3 separate regions of the Homo sapiens genome follow, and all the other regions are linked to region 2. The links are contacts of gene promoters, found by promoter capture Hi-C in human tissues and cell types (Jung and others, 2019). All regions are on one chromosome and are shown on one strand. The core of a region is centred on a gene start or on the middle of the fragment in contact, and the rest is flanking DNA. Distances in the headings are between cores, read along the strand shown.

Region 1 (2,700 bases), core at 71-2,570, 360 kb after region 2:
TTTATTATTACAGTTAAGCCTATTTAGGTAGTTCAAATCAAATACAAGAGAACACATCAGGTCATCATATTTTTTTTCACTGTTAAAATGAGGTATTCTGGCTTTACAATGTTGTAAGTTGAAGTAAGCAGTTTAATCAAAGTTACAAGAAAGAAGACGAGATATATACTTGGACAATTATTTCCTAGGGGTAAAAAGCCAAGTGAAATGTGTATGAATAAGATAATTAAGCCACAGAATACATTTCAGAATATCAAGAAGCATATGTGCAAAATTTTAATTCTAACCTTAAAATTGGTATACTTTATTATTATTATCATTTTACTTAGCAAACAACATGCACCATACTGTAAAACAAGCAATACAGGACAAAATAGCATATCTATTAGAGCATTTATCAGGTTCACGTATCATCTGAATTGACCAAGACTTATTTTCACTATGACAATTTCTGTATTTTTCTAATTGCTCATCAGTGAGGTTAAGTAGTACAGTTGGCATATACACACAAAGAATGCATACACAATCTGTATTTAATACTTATTATTATATTGGGGTATAAGTTACTAAGTATAATAGCAGCAAGGTACCACTATTTCTAGAACATGTTCTAAGACTTATCATATTGAGACTGTAGATTCACGACTGAAGTGTTATTAGTGCTATAAACTAATAACAAATGTAAAACTGCAAATGTACAGAGCTACCAAAGGCCTATTTGACTTTTCAAAGTGCTGTGCTTCTTGTTGGGCTTAATGTTTGTGAGCAAGCCCCTGCTATTTGAATTAAGTATTGGTCCCAAGTTCTGGGCTCCAGTATAGTTCTAATGATTGGATGTAGGTTGAGGGGTAGAATAATGCATTTGAAAAGAGTAAGAAGCAATAACCACTGTGATAAGAGTGTATTGGACATCACTGAACACACGTGCCTATCACTGTAAGCTTTGCCAGCATCCTGTGGTTAGCAATAATCAGCAGATGATGGAGAATGGCCAGGAGACAAAAGGAAAAAGTAGTATTCTATGAAGGAGACGGGAAGGAATGACACAGAATATGCCTCTAGACTGTTGATGGGCTTGCCTCGGCAAATGGTGAGCCTGAATTCCCCCCAAATATAAGGGTAAATATTTATCTAAACTATTTGGCTTAGAAATGAGTTTGAAAAGTCCTAAAAGTTTTGCTGGAGAATATAATAGAATACTATATCCACTGCAGGGTAGAAAGAATTTTCTTGAATTATTTGTATAGTGTCTAAGACTGTGATATTTTGAGAAAATCAATCGCATTTTGTGGTGTATTCTTCTGGGTTAGGGCCTGTTTAGGGTTATAGTGCTATTGGAGTCCTTGTTTCTAGAAGGAAACTGGGGAATCCAGAAGCTACGGAGAGCGTCCCTTGGGGTAGTAATGAGCTGTTTGGTATCATTTGAAATTAAGGGTAAAGTTTCTACCTAAATTACTTATCACTCAAACAGTTCACTCTGTGTGTCCCAAGGCAATGGTTGTAAGTGACAACGCTATGGTGCCAAACACCAGGGAGCAGCCAGAGGCAGAGGGCCAAGATATCCTGGAACATTAGTGGAACTCAGAAGACAACCATGTTCTATGCTATGCAAAAGAAACTTCCTGTCAGTTTGGATATTTGATGCTATCATTTCTATTCACTTCCTCTTGGCATAACAAGTCTGTTTAGCATGTACTGGGAAAGCCCACCTCTCAAGAGTCCACATACATGTTGGCAGATTTCTTTGAGCTCTACACATTTCATTATATGGATCATCAAAGGTGCCATTCCTAGATAAGTTCTGCCATCCTACATCACACTGTTGGGAAATAAGCCCAAGCAGCTTTTCCACCCAAGCCACAGAAGGAAGAATAGCATATCTGCACACCCCCTGAGTATAAGGCATTTAATCTAATCATTAGGGACCTTATGATTGGGGAGCTAATCAACCAAGATTTGCAAATCAGTCAGCACTAAAGTAGCAGACAGCATCTTCAAAGATGAAGGAACCAAGAAAGATTTAGCACAGGATCACATGCTCAGCTAACGGAGCGGAGTCTCATGGCTGTGCTCCAATCATTAGCCCACTCTGTTTCTTAGAATCTAACAGTAAAAATTTGAAATTAGCTACTAAGAAACATCACACAAACTTCAACTGTGGCATGAACTAAATCTGCAGGATGGACTGGTTTCATGTAGCTCTTTTACTTCCCAGGAAGAAGTAGTTTCATTTCCATCTGAATTTCTTCTGTTGCTCCACCTTTAGCATTGTGCTAAGCCTCCTAGCTGGGAGGTAGTAATGTCTCATTGGGAAGCACTTTCTCATGGCAAGATTCTCAAAACGAGAGATGGAAAGTCCCGCCACGCCATAAAACTGCATTTAATTCCAGAATACTCTACTACGTTGTCTTATTGAGAAGAAACAATTTTTTTGGATGAATATGAGATCATGTAAAAAGAACTAGGATTCCTAAGATGGATCATTACCTGGGCTCAGATTTTGTGCTTTTCTTTGAGTTTATAATAAAATCCTGGGACTGTGGCTTAACTGCTCTCGGTAATTCAGGGTTTAGATTCAGTGCTAAGGAAAATGACTAAAAGTAATTACCATTGAGTTTAATACAGCAAATATAAAAACTTTTTTGGCATGACTCTCTTGGAGGTCTGCCACTAATTTAAAATTTAATGTTCAATAACTTA
Region 2 (2,700 bases), core at 78-2,577:
GACTATCTTTGTTCAACCTTCATTCTTCTGTGGCATTCATATTTTATTCAGAAATAAGTTTCCAAATTACTCTCCAGAGTACCTATAAAAGCAGACTTTGCAATAGTTCCAGGAATCAATGTAGAACAAAAGCAATGCTTTCAACTTTTGAATTTCCTGCTTATCCCTAAAATCAACAGCTGGGCAGCCAAAAAGTTGGGGGTGGAGGAGTGGGGCCTAGAAAGATCAGGTCGGGGCTCTATATGGGGAGTTCTGTGCACCCAGAAAACCTCAAGCCAATCTTAGGAGTTAATCAGAAGGTGGATGGCTGGGAAGTCAAAGCTCTGATGTTTTACAAGTCTTTGATGAGAGTGAATAATGTTCCCATCATTGCTAGGGATGAATCAGAAAAGAGCTTGGCCTAAAAATAGCCAGGGACTTCCTTAGGGATTGAGAGGAGGTAAAAGCAAGGTGGGCGAAGTCTCAACCTTCGAGACAAGAACTTTGAAATTATTTTCTTTCAATTGAGCAGGGCAAGTTCACCTCCCCCGCGCCGACCCCCTAACCCGCCCGCCCCATCTCTACGCCAGCCCTACCCCTTCTCCCCTTCTGACCGCTTTCTCTCCTCTGTGCTCTCCCCTATCTCTCTTCCGGCAGAATCCAATGGCCAGGCTGGGAGAAGGCAGAAAGTGCTTGGCGGATGGTAGGCATGGAAGAAGGCTGGGGGCTGCGGCGAGGTGGGTGGAGGGGAGGGAGAGAAGTGGCAAGGCAGTGAAGGTAAGAGGAGGACAGAAGAGATTCTGAGAGAAGGAGGATACTCAATTTGTCATTCTCATTCTCCCTACTGGAAAAAAGAAAAACTGAATTAAAAGTTACATAACTTTAAAAAACTACTTCCATCTCCGGAATACCTCTCTGAAGACAGCAGCGGCCACACCTCACCACTAGGATTCCTAAAGCGCCTCGGGGGTCAGAGGGGTTGGAGGACCCCAGGGGCTGGGGAGGGGACTGCTCGGGCCGAAAGGTGTCGCGGTGACTCGGCTCCATTCAGAGCACTCGAGCGCGCCCCACCCTCGCTCGGCGCCGTCGACGCCCCGCCTGACTGGAAACCCGAAACTCGCGGGTGCCAGGCCCGGGTCCTACTACTGTCCCGCCGCCGGCAAGTTAGGGCCAGCGCCAAGGGGACCTTACCTCGGCCGGGGGGACCTCCTCGTCCAAAGAAGGGAAGACCTTGTCGGCACCATTGAGAGGCGTGTTCTCTTCTGGCTGCCGCTCGAGCACCGAGAGCTCCAGCTCGTCTACTGGCTGTGAGGGTTGGGCCAGGTCCATGTGCCGGCAGGGAAAGTCTGAGCGGCTCCGCGGGAGGCCACAGCGCCGGCGAGTCGAGCGACCTCCCCGCCTCACACTCCACCCACTGGGCGGGGCGTCGCGGACCTCGGGCGGCGGGAGCGGACCGGAGCGGACAGGAGGGGCAACTGTGAGTGGCGGCCACTCCCTGGATCCCGCGGGGTAGAGCACCTGAGGCCGTGCCGGAGTGGGCTCCAGAGCCGAAGGCTGTTTTTCTGATTTGTTCAGGGCGCTGCCTGCTATGCCTTTCCCCGCGCCTGCAGATGCAGACCATCTCCGTTTAGGGGCTGCCTGGGTGCCGGGCTGTGGTAAGGAAAGGGTGGGCCCGGCAGCACCGTCCAACGGAGAAAAGTTTGCGATCTAACCCTACGAACTGTTGGTTGTTGGGGTTTGCCACAGTCCTCGCGGCCTAGCAAAAGTGCATTCATTCAATCAACAAATAACCATGCCTCGTGCCAGCATGGTGCTAGGTTCTGAGTGCATGAAGGTGAATAATATACACCAACACACTTCCTCGCAAGTCCAGAGTCAGGCACAGAGACAGTATTGTGTGGTGCTGGGGACAGCGGACTCTAAAACCAGTGTACCTGGGTTATTCTCCACCCAGAGGGTTCCTCACTGTGAGACCTCGGTCTTCATCTCTCTGTGCCAACGTCCTCATCTGGAAAGTTGGTGTAATATTTGTACCCTCCTAAATGTAGTTGTTACCAGGATTACAAGGGTTGTTGTAAGCAAAGCACTCAGAACAGTGATTGACACAGCAAGCACTCATAAATGACCATTATTATTTATCTTTGAGAGGAGGGGCCTTACACACACACACACACACACACACACACAATGCACGCGCACACACAATCTCCTTGACACCCTATCTGTAGTTCAGAACTTCCGGTTTAGTTAGCATGGAATTATGTTTGTTAAGCACAGCATGGGTTGGGCCAAGGGCCTCAACTCTCAAGCTTCTGTTCCGAATAGTCTTGCTCCTTACTTCTCACCCTCCACGCAACACACACACACACACACACACACACACACACATTAAGACCAGACCATTAACAAGAAGCATATAAATCAGCTCCACTCCAAATATGTTGACTTGAGTCCAAAAGTCTGGCATCTTCAGTACCTGATGTTGAGACACAGCCTAGATATCCTGTCTCCAGCAGTCTGATGCCTGCTACCAGATCCCCTGAACTTTGGATCCATCTGCCTGCTAAGGGGAGTCTGCAGTGACTCATCTGCTGACCTGCACTGACTTCTGCTCCAACAGGTGGATCTTGCAAGAATCAGGCTGCATTCTCAGCTGGGATTTTTGAACAGGTTTTTTAACCAAGGAGCAAGGGTTAAGGGAATCAACAAGGCATGGTGACG
Region 3 (2,700 bases), core at 153-2,652, 420 kb after region 2:
TGCGGCCCGAGGGCAAAGCTTCTCAACTCTTGCGCCAGATGTGCCCTAATCATGGAGCTGAGTAAATGCACACTCCCCAGAGCCCTGTATGGCAGGCATGACAAGCACTGATCCTGGCATTTCTTTCAAGCTGCATAGTTTGTTTTTGTAAATTCATTCACATTTTGTTACACACACACACACACACACACACATGCACACACACACACAAAATTGATGTTCTGGATGTGCTATGTTTGCCCTGTGGCTTCGAGTCCCTTCTGGCACACGCCTTTATTCTTGGGTACTTGTGACCCCTAATGTGAAAGTCCTAGGTCTGGAAGAAAGGCACCAAGAAGTCAATTAGGCACAAGAAAGCTCTGTTCACTCATGGCCCAGCCAACTTTAGTAAAGTAGAAGACTATGAGTGGATTTGAAACCAAAGCTTGAAATCGTGTCTATTTGCCCAAACCTTAGGCAACCTGGAGCAAACGCTGGTGAAGAATCAAGATTATGAGCCATTAGACTGTCTTCTTAAAGAGAGTAGAGAACTGAAAGCTTCCCACCTAAGCTTAACTCCCTCCTCTTGAGTTGACCAGGAGAAAGTTTCACTTGTAGGGCTCATCCTGCCCTTCTGGTACCGAATGTACAATATTAAAGCCTGATAAATTTACACAGCGGAAGTAGAAGACAAGAGGCCTCTGACTCAGGTCTCAAACTCCTATGAATCTTTAGCCTGCTGAGGTATGTTCTTGCTCCAAGAGTTTTAGACTAAGTTTCCTCACCTGTCTAGACTGGTGTTCTGTGTCTACTTACTTGAGTCTTCACTGATTCCTTGGATCTGTTTTTTTTTTTTTTTTCCTCTGCACCTATGATGCCTGCCTGATTCTACCAATCTGGGCTAAACTTTGAAACTGACTCAGTGGCCTATTCAGCCTAAGGCATCTGCCAAGCTGCCCAGATTTAGGTCCTGACCTCTCCTGGCCTGACTGACATGCCACAATAAAAATCATTAGAAGAAGAGCATTGATTTAAAGTGGATATATTAGTCTGTGATGTGAAGTGAGTCAAAAGAAAAGCTCAACTCACCATACTTGAGTGACAATCACCACCTTTAGCAAATTCTCTGCTCCACAAGGCATTTTTCTTTCTCCTACTCACTCATTTGCCATTTCCTGTCATTCATTCACATGATACTGAATTGAATACTACTTTGTGTCTGGCCTCATCCTCACAGTGGGGGCGTTGAGGAGTGAAGGCAGCTTTCCACCTTTGAGGACATTTGGGTCCAACAGAGTTCACAGCCCGCATTCCCTCATCTTGGAGTGACATTGCACGTTTTGACATAAACATTAAAGCAACAATAGCAAACTGAAAAATTTCATCTCAGTAGATAGGACAGAGAGTATCTTCAAATAGTATTTATTGAACAGATAAATATTGGTCAAGCTGTGTACCCAAAATTTGGGGTGATGGGTAAAAGTCCTGTAGGAGGAGGTTCTGTAGAAGTGATTGCTGAGCCTTCTTCCTGCCCCCGCTCCTGTGTGGGGAGCCCCAAGTAGGAATGATGAGCAGGAGTCTGCCCAGTTCTGCCACATGTGTGGGATCTTGCTGCAGGGACTGCTGTAAACTGTGAATTGTTTCCGTAGTTTCTACTAAAGTAGCAACAAAAAACACTGCCCAAGGGTTTGAGGGAGGAATGAAAGTCTCTTTCTTGGGTGGAGTCTGGAGAAACACAGCTTAGTTTTCTTTGATATGAAATGGTTCAACGGTGAGAGGGTAAGTTTGCTCTGGAGTTTTGGGAAAATCAAAGGGCTCCAATTATCTCCTTAAGAAAGGAAAATTGATTGAAGTTTTGGTGGATCCCAGCCAATACCTAGGGTAGAATAAGACCCAGAAATGATATAAAAACAGCGAACTTATGGGATGAATCCTTGCTTATTTTCTTTCTGAACTTTCAGATTAAACAATGCTCAGAGAAAAGAGAAAGAATCCTGCCCCCCACGCCAATGAAACAGCATTTTGGATTTTGTCATACTGTAAAAAGGTTGCAGTCTTGGAAAAATAGGGTAGTTTTGAGTCAAATTAAGAATCTTTCATTAGGGTCTTGCTCAAGTACTTTTTGTTTAAACTTTCTACTTGGAAATAATTTCAAACTTCAAAAAAAGTTGCAAAAGTAAAAATATTAAAAGACACACACACACACATACACACACACACACACACACACTTATTCCATCTACCTAGATTCATCTGTCTTTAACAATTTACCCCCTTTACTTTGTCATTTGCTTCCATCTCTCTCTGTATGCATATACATGTATATCTATACATGCATGTATGTATGTATAAGTGTATGCATATACATATGCATGCACACATGAACACACACCCTTTGAGGCTAAGTTATTTATATCATAGTCCTTTGACTGCTAAATAATAACTGTGTATTTCCTAAGAATAAAAATATCTCTTACATAACAACATCGGAGTTATAAATACTTTTATCTAGTCATCTGTCCATATTCTAATTTTGTCAGTTGATCTAATAAATGTCTTTCATACCATTTCCCCCCTTCTAGTACAGGATTCAATCTAGAGTTAGGTATTGCAATCAATTGTCATGTCTCTTTAGCCTCCTTTAATCTAGAATATTTTCAGAGCCTTTCTTTATATTGACATTTTTGAAAAATATAGTCCTCTCTCCCTTTTTAATATACC

Evidence for each region. Contacts are between HindIII fragments. The study calls those that stand out against the background at their distance.
Region 1: a fragment that was not itself captured here is called in contact with the fragment with the promoter of C3orf52 in region 2 in 1 of the 25 tissues and cell types used here (mesendoderm cells).
Region 3: a contact is called between a fragment that was not itself captured here and the fragment with the promoter of C3orf52 in region 2, in 1 of the 25 tissues and cell types used here (spleen).

Annotation. Positions count from the first base shown.
Region 1 is chr3:111,724,176-111,726,875 of GRCh38, reverse strand. It overlaps PLCXD2 (phosphatidylinositol specific phospholipase C X domain containing 2), which reads right to left. Exons shown (of 4, transcript NM_001413064.1): 4 at 1-2,700. Among named protein-coding and RNA genes, the nearest start is that of PLCXD2-AS1, 48 kb to the right of the region's middle. The HindIII fragment of the contact is 4,577 bases long and covers 1-2,700 here.
Region 2 is chr3:112,085,016-112,087,715 of GRCh38, reverse strand. C3orf52 (chromosome 3 open reading frame 52) reads right to left here and starts at 1,327. Exons shown (of 6, transcript NM_024616.3): 1 at 1,171-1,327. The coding sequence starts at 1,308. RefSeq lists silencers at 1,413-1,462, 1,483-1,532, 1,583-1,632 and an enhancer at 1,149-1,665. The HindIII fragment of the contact is 9,818 bases long and covers 1-2,700 here.
Region 3 is chr3:111,664,682-111,667,381 of GRCh38, reverse strand. It overlaps a transcript of CD96 not described here. Among named protein-coding and RNA genes, the nearest start is that of PLCXD2, 8.6 kb to the left of the region's middle. The HindIII fragment of the contact is 3,023 bases long and covers 1-2,700 here.